Regions from separate parts of the Homo sapiens genome. Here regions 2 and 3 are each linked to region 1. The links are contacts of gene promoters, found by promoter capture Hi-C in blood cells and fetal thymus (Javierre and others, 2016). All regions are on one chromosome and are shown on one strand. The core of a region is centred on a gene start or on the middle of the fragment in contact, and the rest is flanking DNA. Distances in the headings are between cores, read along the strand shown.

Region 1 (4,395 bases), core at 1,657-4,156:
TACCCATTAAGTAATTTCTCATCACGGGAGTATCTCGATTGGATTTCCTCAGAAACAGACCCTGATACAAAAATTTGAGTGCAAATAGTTTGTTTGTGATGTGATTCCTGGAAGCACTGATGGGTGAGTGAAGAAGTGAAACAGAGAAGGAAAGAAAATACAGGGTGTTTCAATGAGCAAATTACCTCTGTGGGCACCTGGGGATTTATCTCACCCAGGACTTTTGGAAGATGGTGTGGGACATGTCTCAGCACTGTTCCACTAGAAGGAACATGAATGAAATAATGAAACTGGGTTATTTATCCAGCAATTCTCATCCATAATGGGTTAAGGCAACTTTAGGGGCATTAACTCTCTGACATTTCTTGTCTGCTGTGTAGTCTGGCTGAGCATGCTCTTGTGGCCTGAGAAAGCTTTTGGGGAGAGTTGTGGAAGATTGGCATAAGAAGCTTTCTGTAGAGGCTCACTTTGGTGAGCATTGATGATACGTTGGCAGGACACCAACAGTATCACCTACCCTCCACCTTTTGAAATGGTCTGATCCAGTACCTCACATTGAGTTCATTTCATCTTGTCACTGATTGTTCAAGGGGGTAGCCATTTCAATTTATAATAAAACGGTCTTATAAAGGGAAGTGTATTACTCAGGGTTCTCTAGAGAAACTGACCCAATAGGATAGATATTATTTGTAATACACAGAGAGAGAGAGAGAGAGACAGAGAGAGAGAGAGGAGAGAGGAGAGAGGAGAGAGAGATTAAAGAATTGGCTCAAGCTGTGGAAGCTAGCAAGTCTGAAATCTGTAGGGCAAGCCAGCAGGCTGGAAATTCAGATAAGAGTTCAAGAGTTGATGCTGGAGTCTTGAATCTGAATTCCTCAGGGCAGCAGGCTGGAAACTCAGGCAGTATTTCTATGTTGCTGTCTTGAGGAGAATTCTTTCTACTTTGGGGAACCTCAGTCTTTGCTTTTCAGGTCCTCAACTTATGGGATAAGGCCCACCTATGTTATGGAGGATAATTTGCTTTACTTAAAGTCTACTGATTTAAATGTTAATCACACAGATTCATTGCAATCCCTATAGAAATACCAGTGACATTTTTCACAGAAATAGAAAAAAATCCTAAAATTTTTATGCAACCACAAAAGACCTCAAATAGCCAAAGTAATCTTGAACAAAAAGCACAAAGCTGGAGGCTTCACACTACTAGACTTCAAAATATACTGCAAAGTTGAAGCAACCAAAATAGCATGGTACTAGCATAAACAATAGACACATAGACTGATGGAACAGAAATGAGAGCCAAGAAATTAATCCACGTAACTACAGCCAACTACTTTTTGACAAAGGCACCAAGAACTCTCATTAGTGAAAGGACAGCCTCTTCAATAAATGGTGCTGGAAAAACTTGATATCCATATGCAGAAGAATGAAACTAGACTCCCACCTCTCACCCTATATGAAAATCAACTCACAGTGGATCAAAGATCTAAATATAAGACATGAAACTACAAAACTACTAGAAGAAAACATAGTGGAAACACTTCAGGACATTGCTCTGTGAAAAGATTTTATGAATAAGACCTCAAAAGCACAGGCAACAAAAGCAAAATAAACAAGTGGGATTATATCAAACTAAAAAGCTTCTATACAGCAAAGGAAACCCTACACAAAAGGAAAAGACAACAGAGTAAAAATACAACCTACAGTATGGGGGGAAATTTTTGTAAACAATTCATCTGACAGAAGATTAATATCCAGAATATACAAGGAACTAAAAATCTCAATAGCATAAAAAAACCCACCCCAAAATGATTAAAACATGGGCAAACGATCCAAACACAGACAGTTCTGAAAAGAAGACAAACAAATGGTCAACAAATATTTAAAAGATACTCAACATTGCTAATCACCAGGGAAAGGTAAATCAAAACCACAATGAGGTATCATCTCACTGCAGTTAGAGTGGCTATTACCAAAAAGACAAAAAATAACAAATGCTGGCGAGGATGTGGAGTAAAGGGAACTCTTATATACTGTTGGTGGGAATGTGAACTAGTACAGCCACTATGGAGAAAAGTATGGAGGTTCCTCAAGAAACTACAAACAGAACTACCACATGATCTAACAATCCCACTACTGGGCATTTATCCAAAGGAAAGGAAATCAGTATATTGAAGAAACATGTGCATCCCTAAGTTTATTTCAGCACTATTCACAATAAGCCAAGATATATAATCAACCTAGGTGTCCAACAACAGATGAATGGATAAAGAAAATGTGGTATATGTACACAATGGAATAAATTCATCAAGCCACATTCAGCCATAACAAAGAATGAAATCCTTTCATTTGCAATGGCATGGATAGAACTAGAGGACATTATGTTAAGTGAAATAAGCCAGGAACAGAAAGTTAAACACCACATGTTCTCACTCATTTGGGAAGCTAAAGAAAAGTTGATCTCATAGAAGTAAAAAGTAGAACAAGAGGGTACTAGATACTAGAGAAGGGGGTGGGGAGAGGAGGAGATTTGTTAAAGGATACAAAATTAGAGCTAGATAGCAAGAATGAGTTCTAGGGTTCTATAGCACCATAGGATAACTATAGTTAACAATAATATATAGTTTCAAATAGCTAGAAGGAGGATATTGACTGTCCTCAACACGAAGAAATGATGTTTTAGATGATGGATATGCTAATTACCCTGACCTGACCACTATACATTATATGTATCAAAACATCACCATGTATGTACTCCATAAATATGTACAATTATATATCAATAACAAAATTTAAAAATGAAAATGTCATACAAATATTAATAGCATCTTAAAAAATATTTTTATAGGGACAAGCTACAGTCCATACTTTTTTTCATAATTTTATTTTATTTTTATTATACATTAAGTTCTAGGGTACATGTGCACAATGTGCAGGTTTGTTACATAGATATACATGTGCTACGTTGATTTGCTGCACCCATTAACTCGTCACTTATATTAGGTATTTCTCCTAATGCTATCCCTCCCCCTGCCCCCCACCCCACGACAGGCCCCTGTGTGTGATGTTCCCCACCCTGTGTCCAAGTGTTCTCATTGTTCGATTCCCACCTATGAGTGAGAATATGCAGTGTTTGGTTTTCTGTCCTTGTGATAGTTTGCTCAGAATGATGGTTTCCAGCTTCATCCATGTCCCTACAAAGAACATGGACTCATCCTTTTTTATGACTGTATAGTATTCCATGATGTATATGTGCCACATTTTCTTAATCCAGTCTATCATTGATTGACATTTGGGTTTGTTCCAAGTGTTTGCTATTGTGAATAGTGCTGAAATAAACATAAGTGTGCATGTGTCTTTATACTAGCATGATTTATAATCCTTTGGGTATATACCCAGTAATGGGATGGCTGGGTCAAATGGTATTTCTAGTTCTAGATCCATGAGGAATCACCACACTCCCTTCCACAATGGTTGAACTAGTTTCCACTCCCACCAAGAGTGTAAAAGCGTTCCTATTTCTCCACATCCTCTCCAGCATCTGTTGTTTCCTGACTTTTTAATGATCGCCTTTCTAACTGGTGTGAGATGGTATCTCATTGTGGTTTTGATTTGCATTTTTCTGATGACCAGTGATGATGAGCGTTTTTTCATGTGTCTGTTGGCTGCATAAATGTCTTCTTTTGAGAAGTGTCTGTTCATATCCTTTGCCCACTTTTTGATGGGGTTGTTTTTTTCTTGTAAATTTGTTTAAGTTCTTTGTAGATTCTGGATATTAGCTCTTTGTCAGATGGGTAGACTGCAAAAATTTTCTTCCATTCGCTACAGTCCATACTTTTACAGTGAGTCCTGAGGTCATTATTAACAGTCATTATCTTCCTTTAGCACCTTTTCTGCATTCCCTACCCTAACTCCCTGGCAAGCACTTCTGATGGTTTAGGTTGTTTATTCAATAAGGCAAATCGGATCTTTATCTCTAAGGTTACCGTGCCATTGTTAAGGCAGGATTTCTGCAATTGTGTGTTATAGTTATCACTGGGTAGAAGCATCAAGAAGTGTCTTGTACTGCTTTCTGGGCCACAATTACATTGTTTTGTGGCAACAACTTGATCTCTTCATGATAACCAGGGTCATTTAGTAACTTCACTGTTGCCTAGAGATCTACTGTCAAAAGAAGCTTGACATGACAGTTGGCAGCCGTAACTTTATTTTTTAGTGAAACCCTTATTGTATCCCTGGCCCTGGTGAAAGCAAATCCCCCACTCTGTGCTTGGAAATGAGGACCTTTATTAAGTGGGACCTAAAATTGTAGGGACAGAAAAGCCAAATTTACCACGTTGGTCCCTAGGAGTGCTTGCCTTATACTATGACTTGGTGGTTCTGATATGATTCAGC
Region 2 (3,876 bases), core at 453-2,952, 140 kb after region 1:
ATTTTGATCCTTAATGCATGGATTCAACCTTTACTACTGCCTTATTGGGCCAGTGTGTGAAACCATGCCACTTGCTCTGACCTCTGACCCTCTGACCCTCTGACCCTGTCCTATTTCTCAGCCTTTCATCATCTTAGTCCTATTCCCAGGTGGCTGCTCCGATGAGCTTTCATGGGCTTGTGTTACCAGGAACTCTGGAAGCTCCCCTGGGCTGCAGTCCCCAGGAGAAAACAAGGGTCCCTGTAGGGGGAACTCAGGAGGTGAGCTGGTGCTGCTCCTTACCTTCCCTGGCAGTGAGCAGCTGTCAGCACAAAGTCCTTTCTCACTAGGATGCCGCCACACCTCTTCCGACTCTTCTCTTGCAGAAACTGAACAAAGGCCATGTAGGGGCGGGAGTGGGGCTTGGCCTCATGGCCCCCGATGATCTCCTCTGAAAGGAAAGACTGGAAGATAAAGTAGCTGGGGATGGCTGCAGTCAGGAGAGAAGGCTTAGGACGACAGTGATTGAGGGTGAAGTGTTTTGTGTGCTGCAGACAGTGAGGGAGGGGTCCTCCTGAGCTCTGCAGGCAGTACTCCTTGCAGGCAGAGCAAGCTTTTCTGAACTTTAAGTCTCAGAACCTTCTCTCAGAAAGAATGGACAGTGCTTGACTTCTGCATCCTACTGCAGAAACACACATGGAGGAAGAAAGATCTATTTTCACAGTGGTAGAGCCCCAGAGGATCCTGGACAGGACTTCCCAGGCTCCTCCTTTTTAGTGAGTCTCTCTGATTCCTCTGAGCCTCTGCTGTCCTCCTGATTGGTGCCATTTTCTAATGATCTACCCATGAGCTTCTGGAGTTGGATTTTCTAAAATTCTCATGTGCCAGGGCTGAACACATTCTAGGTTCTCAGTAAGTGTTGTTTGGTGCATAAATGAATAGCCTCCAATTAGCCTTTGGCTGAGGTTTAGTGGGGGTAGTGCTGGTGGGATTCAGGACCTCAGGGATGTTAGAGGGGGTTATCACCAGGTCAGTGGAGTAGCTGAGGGCCTGCAAAGGCAGAAGGAAGTGGAGAAATCAACTAAAAATGAATCGCAAAGCCCAGGTGGAGCCAAGGTAATGGGAGAGCTATGGACACAGTCATCTTGCCATCTCTGAGATCAGTTGCACCATGGGCTTCCCTCCTGGCAGGGGTGACTGGGTGGGGGCACTGAATAAGTGGTTCTTAAGCTGAGTCCAGTAACAACTCCTATGACTGCAACTTGGTGTCTGAGCTCCTCTTTCCTGGGTTGGAGTGTAGAGTAATAATTACTTATCTTTTTTAGCTTCACATTCCCTACCAAATGCCTTTCTAAGAACAATCCACACTCCAGGTCATAAAGGAGAGGTCTAGGGAGAGGCTAACACCCATTAAACCTTTTAGGGAACACCCTTCATTTTTCGATCTTTGCTGAGTGTCTATCTAGCCTCAGATTTATAAGTCTGGGTGTGGAATGGGAGGTGGGCTCAGATTGAGGAAAATTCCTGACCAGTGCTCATGGGTACAGGGTATCTTATAAGATGGGTTCAGGCCTCTGGAATAGGGATAGTCACTTACCTGTCCCAGCCCCAGGGGTCAGAAGAAAGGCCAACAGGAGGAGGAATGGCTGCATTTTCTCAGGAAGGCTGCCCAGGTCAGAGCTGTTGGTGTTGACTCCTTCCAGAAACAAATGCTGGAGGGAGATGAAGGAGGGATGGGTACAGTAAACTCAGAGACCTCCTAGACTTGTCCCCTTCTGGTTTTGATGGGTGTCATTATAGAAGGTGGTTTATTAAAATTATCTGGTTTGGTTTAAGTTGACATGGCACTGTCACATTTACACCCCTGCTGCTGAGTAACAAGGTGAAAGCAAGAATAAAGAACAAGGAGGTGGAGCTGTTGAAGCTGTGGCTGCAGCTAGCAGAAAGGCTGGTACTGCAGAAGCTCCTCAGTGACTGAGAACCAAGAATGTCTCCTTTTCTCAGTTCTTGGCTCTTTTTCTACTCAGATAAAATCATGAATAATTATTTAGCAAGCCAGATCCAGGGATATGAGAGACATGGCTCTTGCCCTTGAAGAATTGATGGTTAGCAAGAGTAGACTGAAAATCTGGGGTTAGAGCACAAGATGGTAAGGGCCGTGGTGGGGAAATCTGCCTGTTGGTGTGAGACGGAGGCTGGACTTGCCTTAGCAGTATGCAGAGTTGCACACACCCAACAAATACTGCAAATGGCAACCCATTCCTATCTTACCACTATCTCAGATTCATATTTTTGGGATATTTAGAATCCCCTCTTTAAATATAAATATTCTGTGACAAAGATAACTTTTTTTATTCCACAGTTCTGCACAAAAGTTCTGGACTTGATATTTATTGAACCAAAATGAGTCATCATTGGGTCCACTGAAGTGTAGTGGACTGATTGCTTTATGCTTTGGTTATTTAGCCCTCCTTAAGCTGAGGTGGGGACTGTTCCACTCCATCTATGGTGCTTATGAATGAGGAGGGGATTTCCCTTGAGAAATGCTAGTTGTTGTTGCCAGGTGATGGAAAAATGGATGCTGATCATCCTGATAATAATTGTTCACTAAGGCCGGGCGCGGTGGCTCATGCCTGTAATCCTAGCACTTTGGGAGGCCAAGACGGGTGGATCACGAGGTCAGGAGATCGAGACCATCCTGGTTAACATGGTGAAACCCCATCTCTACTAAAAATACAAAAAATTAGCCGGGCGTGGTGGCGGGCTCCTGTAGTTCCAGCTACTTGGGAGGCGGAGGCAGGAGAATGGCGTCAACCCAGGTGGAGCTTGCAGTGAGCTGAGATCGCGCCACTGCACTCCAGCCTGGGTGACAGAGCGAGACTCCATCTCAAAAACAAACAAACAAACAAACAAAAAACTGTCCACTAAGTATTCTCTCAGTTTCCAGAGAGCCATGTCTCTGATGTCCCTTGGCTCACAGTCATAGGCTGTCCATAAACAAAAATGTGTATATATACATATGTTTGTATATTTATGTATATGAATATATATAAATATATATGTATAGTTAAGTAGGAACATGTAAATGATAAAATTAAACTTACCAAAAATTCTACCACCGGAGATCATTATTAATGCTTAAGCATGTTTCCTTCTACTATTTTTCTAGGTATTTATAAGGTGCTATTCCTGCTATTACTTTAACAGAACTGGGATAGGACTTTAGGTGATAGACTTTTTTGTGATGAATTTTCCAGGTGTTCTTTGAGCTTCTTGTATTTGGATGTCTAGGTATCTAGCAAGGACAGGGGAGTTTTCTTCAATTATTTCCTCAAATAAGGTTTTCAAGCTTTTAGATTTCTCTTCTTCCTCAGGAACACCAATTATTCTTAGGTTTGACTGTTTAACATAATCCCACATTTCTTGGAGGCTTTGTTCATTTTTTAAAAATTATTTTTTCTTAGTCTTTGTTTGATTGGGTTAATTTGAAAGCATTGTCTTTGCGCTCTGAAGTTTTTTCTTCCGCTTGTTCTAGTCTAGTGTTGAAACTTTCCAGTGGATTTTGTATTTCTCTAAGCATGGCTTTCATTTCCAGAAGTTGTGATTATTTTTTCTTTATGATATCTATTTCTCTGGGGAATTTTTCACCCATATCCTATATTTATGTATATATATATTTTTTAATTTTTAAAGTTGTTTTTTCACCTTTCTCTGGTATCTCCTTGAGTAGCTTAATGATCTTCTGGATTGTTTATCTGGCAATTCAGAGATTTCTTCTTGGTTTGGATCCATTGCTGGGGAGCTAGTGTGATCTTTTGGAGGTGATATAGAACTCTGTTTTATCATATTACCAGAATTACCTTTCTAGTTCCTTATCATTTGGGTAGACTATTTCAG
Region 3 (4,218 bases), core at 1,058-3,557, 160 kb after region 1:
GGGTCCCCCACGCACAACTCAATGGTACTGTCGTAATAATGGCGTAAGTCAGATTCGCACTTTCGATCTTCCTGCACTGTCATCTTCACCTCTTGTAGTGTGTGTGAGTGTTTTCCCAGGGGGGCCGTCTGCCCCCAGCCGGCCACACTGCATGTCTGCCCTGGCTTCACCTGGGCCTTGTTGCTAGGTAGCCTGAGGGGCTGCACAGCTCTGGTCCGCTTGGCCTTTCTCTCCAGCTGGTGGGGAAGAGGCAAGAAAGTCCAGGTCAGCCAACGAACTTCTGGGCCCCGACACAGTGATGGGGCTGCACAATCTTCCCTCTCCTCTGAGGCATAGGAACTAACCAAGAGGCCAGGATGGAAAGGAGGGAAGGGCCGGCATTCCAGGGGGAGTGGAACCAACTGGACCAAGAAGAGCAAGAGTGGCAGGAGTGTGCCTCACCTGCAGTAGCATGATGTCGTTGGAGAAGTTCTTAGGATTATAGGCTGGATGGGGGATGGGTCTTTTCACAGGGATAAACTGCTGGGTCGGCTCCTGTTCTTTGATATTGTGGGCCCCCAAGGTGACATTTATGGAGCTGCACAGAGAGCAGAGTGAGGATGGGGGTGGAGTCACAGGGTATACAGCCCAGAGACAGTGAAGAGCAGGTGACAGCTGGGGCAGGGCTGCAGCTGAGGGGAAATTAAGGGGACAGTCGGTCCCCAGGAATTGGAATTCTGGTAATTGCACCAGGTTTCTCAGGGTTCGGTTCCCCCTAGAAACACAGGTGGAATTGCTTCAGTTTGTATTCTATGCCAAAGTATGCCCCCAGTTCTAAATATGGCAGGCTTGGTCACTCTGCTGTTTCTTACTTCAGCAGCACCTCTGGAACCAACCTTCCCCTCTCTCCACAAACTTAACTGCCCTTTTCTCACCCTCTAAGGAGACCTCCTGGCATGTGTGTTCACAGGAGCCCAGGGAGCTCCTTGGGAAGAAGGCAGGGGTCTCTGTGGAGTGTTTCCAGGAGGGTGTGGGCTGTTTTCTGCTCCTCACCTTCCCCAACAGTGAGCAGCTGTCAGCACGAAGTCGTCTCGTATCAGGAAGCCACCGCACCTCTTCAGAGACTTCTGATCCCAGATCATAAGATAAGCCATGTAGGGGCGGGAGTGGGGCTTGGCCTCATGTCCCCCGATGATCTCCCCTGAAGGAAAAGTCTGTCTGCTTGTGGGCACCCATGGAATCTGCTGGGTGGGCACCTGCTTAGTGGCTCCAGAACTCCTGGGCATTTGGGAGCCTGGGATAGCCTGGAGTTGGGAGTGGCCTGGAGGAAGGGGCTTCAATTTCCTGCTCTGAAAAAGGGAAGAACAGCAGACTTTGGTCTGTAAATCTTTCTTCCATATGTAGTTGAAGGCGAGCATACCTGTCTTAGGGACAGTGAAATCCCAGAGGCTCCTGATCATTCCTCTCCTGACTTTGCTTTGTTTCAGGTGAGTTTCCAAGACCCTTATGAGTCCTGTGGTGTCTAGGATAGTGCTGCTTTCTAATGGCCAGGGTGTAAGTGGAGGGATCTAGATACTGTCATATCCTGTTTCCTAGAGCCTGACATGTAGTGGGTGCCCAGTAAATGTTCATGGCTGCATGATGGACTGGCTCCAGTTAGCCTCTGGATGAGGGCTGGTAGAGCAGTGCTGGTGGAATTCTAGAAAGCAGGGAAGCTGGGGCCTGCCGTAGTGCCTCATCCTTGGAAAGAGGGGAGCCACCAAAGGCCAGGGAAGAAAAGCAGAGTTGGAGAATGGGACTGAGCAAACACATTAACAGTGTTCTGAGGACAGTGATTGTACCAATTCTGCTGTCAGCTGAGCTCTGGGTTTCTCTCCTAAGTAGACAGTGAGAGAAGCACCTGTCTTATCCCAGAAACAGAAGCCAGGCCTACTCTAGAATAATTTAATATTTCTCTTTTCTAGTTTCCCATCCTCTGCCATTTACTTCTAGGAAAGTCCTACTCTCCAGGTGACAAAGGTGGGCTCTGGGGAAGGGATAGTACCCACTGGCTCTTCTTGAGAATGGCCTGCTGCTCTGCCATTCCTGCTGATAGCTTATCCAGCATCACACTTGGGGGGTCTTGGTAGAATGGGAGCTGGAGTTCAGAACATTCCTGGTAGATAGATGGATCAGGAATGTGGAGAAAGGGCAGGAGACCTGTGGGATGGGGTTGGGCCCCCGAGGGTGGAGACGGTCACTCACCTGCATCTGCCCTGGGCAGCAGGAGGAAGGCCAGCAGAAGCAGGATTGGTTGCATCTTCTCAGGAAGGCTGCCCTGGTTGGAGCTGCTGTTGTTTCCTCCTTGCTCTCTTTTAGCTCTTGGGAGAGGAAAGAGGTGGAGCAGGCTCAGTGACTTCATGTTCCCCTCTGGTTTTGTGGTGTCTCATCACAGATTTTCTGTAAATGCTGCCCACCCCCACTGCCTCTGCCTGATGACGTCCTCTGGGTGCTTGTGTGAGAATCATGCAGTGACCACATCATCACCCACAGCTGATGACTCAGAGTGGACCACCTATTCAGCCCAGAGCAGGAACCCAAGCCTATGAAGTGAATTGTAGGATGTGGTATCAGCCAGTAGAGGTACTGGAGCACCAGAAACCTGAGTTCCCAGTGATAGAACCGCCAATGCCTCATGGCCATGCTGCTAAATCCATCAGGATAGTTTCTTTAGCAGGTATGTGTTTGAGCCCTTCTGTTGTGCTAGAACCAAGCATGTTGGAGATGTGTCTCCTTCACTTAGAGAGCTGACCATCTGGTTGAAGAGACGGAAATGCCAGGAGCCAGAGTACAGTTTGGGGAGGGCTATGGTAGCACAATACACAAGGCAGTAACAAAGCATGGCCACCATCTACTAGACCCATCTAGCAACCCATTTATTATCATAGCTTCCTTTCTAGAGAATTTCTAACATCCCTTATTTAGTTACAAATGTTTAGTGTGAGAGTCCACCTCTTTTCTGAATGCTTTCAATAAAAGTCCTGTACTTGACATTTTATTGGGCTAGATTAATGAATTGCTAGGAGTCAAATCCACTTTGGGTAGGCTGGGGTCAGTCTACTCAAGCCACTAGAACCAAGAATGAGAAAGGGCTGGTTCTCTAAAGGACGTTTGTGGTGCTAAATTGCTGATACCATATGAAGTGAGGAAGCATGCCAGGCAGCCAAAGATCAGTAGTTGTGTTGTTTAGTATTCTGTCTCCTGTCCAGAGAGCCACACTTCTTACATAGCAGGCTCAGCACATAACAGGCTCACAGTAAACATTTGCTAAACAAACTACACTAATGCTATCATTATAATGGATGTGAAAGATTGTTGTTTCTGAACAGCCCGTGCCCAATTCTGTTAAAAGACAACTAAGTCTCTCTACATGGTTCGATTCTTGTGATTTGTTTCCACCTTTATATTTTCTGTGAGGAAATTTTTCTATGAGGAATGGTATATCTCAAAATATAGAATTCCAGTGTAAACGTCTTCCTTGTCAATAGCAAGCCAACTACATTTATCAAACTTCTATTTTTTGAACCTAGCTTGCCCCATAGTAGACGTTTTAAAAATAATTTTTTCTGATTATAGTCATAATATATGTTTGTTAAGAAAATTTGGAAAGTAGGAAGGGAAAATATCACTTTTTAACCTGTCTCCCACAGACTGACTGTTACCATAAGCAGTGTGTTTTAAATACTTGGGATCACATTGTACATACAATGCAATTTATTTTATCCTTGATTAACCCTACAAATTAAGCATTTTCCCCATGCTCGTAGAAATCTTAGTCAATACAACTATAGTCTTTCTTTCCTAGGCATTAAAAAATTTAATATGCAAGTAATTTTTAAATAATTTTAGCAAAGCGAAAATAATAAACATTACCTAATTTCTCATCATTCACTGATAACCATCTTTAATGTCTTGAAATATGCTCTAGCACATTTTTTCTCATGTAATATCTGCATTTTTTAAAATTAAAAGGGGATTATGCTAAACATAAGTTTATGACCCATTTAAAAAATTGAGGTAAAATTCACATAACATACAATTAACCATTTTAAAGTATTCAATTCAGTGACATTTAGCACATTCAAAATCTGCAACCACCACCTCTGGATATTTCATATAAACGGAATCACACAATACATGACCTGTTGTGGCTGGCTACATTCACTTGTAATAATGTTTCTGAGATTCATACAAGCTGTA

Evidence for each region. The method cuts DNA at HindIII sites, captures the fragments that hold promoters and counts their contacts. A CHiCAGO score of 5 or more calls a contact.
Region 2: the fragment with the promoter of GZMH here is called in contact with a fragment that was not itself captured in region 1 in 1 of 17 cell types (M2 macrophages); the score reaches 5.3 in M2 macrophages.
Region 3: the fragment with the promoter of GZMB here is called in contact with a fragment that was not itself captured in region 1 in 3 of 17 cell types (M0 macrophages, M1 macrophages and M2 macrophages); the score reaches 7.9 in M0 macrophages.

The regions. Positions count from the first base shown.
Region 1 is chr14:24,467,425-24,471,819 of GRCh38, forward strand. The region is part of intron 2 of LOC101927045 (a long non-coding RNA gene); the gene reads left to right. Among named protein-coding and RNA genes, the nearest start is that of SDR39U1, 27 kb to the left of the region's middle. The HindIII fragment of the contact is 2,537 bases long and covers 1,639-4,175 here.
Region 2 is chr14:24,607,983-24,611,858 of GRCh38, forward strand. GZMH (granzyme H) reads right to left here and starts at 1,703. Exons shown (of 5, transcript NM_033423.5): 1 at 1,577-1,703; 2 at 283-430. The coding sequence starts at 1,631. The HindIII fragment of the contact is 2,736 bases long and covers 591-3,326 here.
Region 3 is chr14:24,631,883-24,636,100 of GRCh38, forward strand. GZMB (granzyme B) reads right to left here and starts at 2,308. Exons shown (of 5, transcript NM_004131.6): 1 at 2,224-2,308; 2 at 1,033-1,180; 3 at 442-577; 4 at 1-236. The coding sequence starts at 2,278. It overlaps GZMH-AS1 (GZMH and GMZB antisense RNA 1), which reads left to right and starts at 1,220. Exons shown (of 3, transcript XR_007064087.1): 1 at 1,220-1,466; 2 at 2,414-4,218. RefSeq lists an enhancer at 1,687-2,886. The HindIII fragment of the contact is 9,884 bases long and covers 1-4,218 here.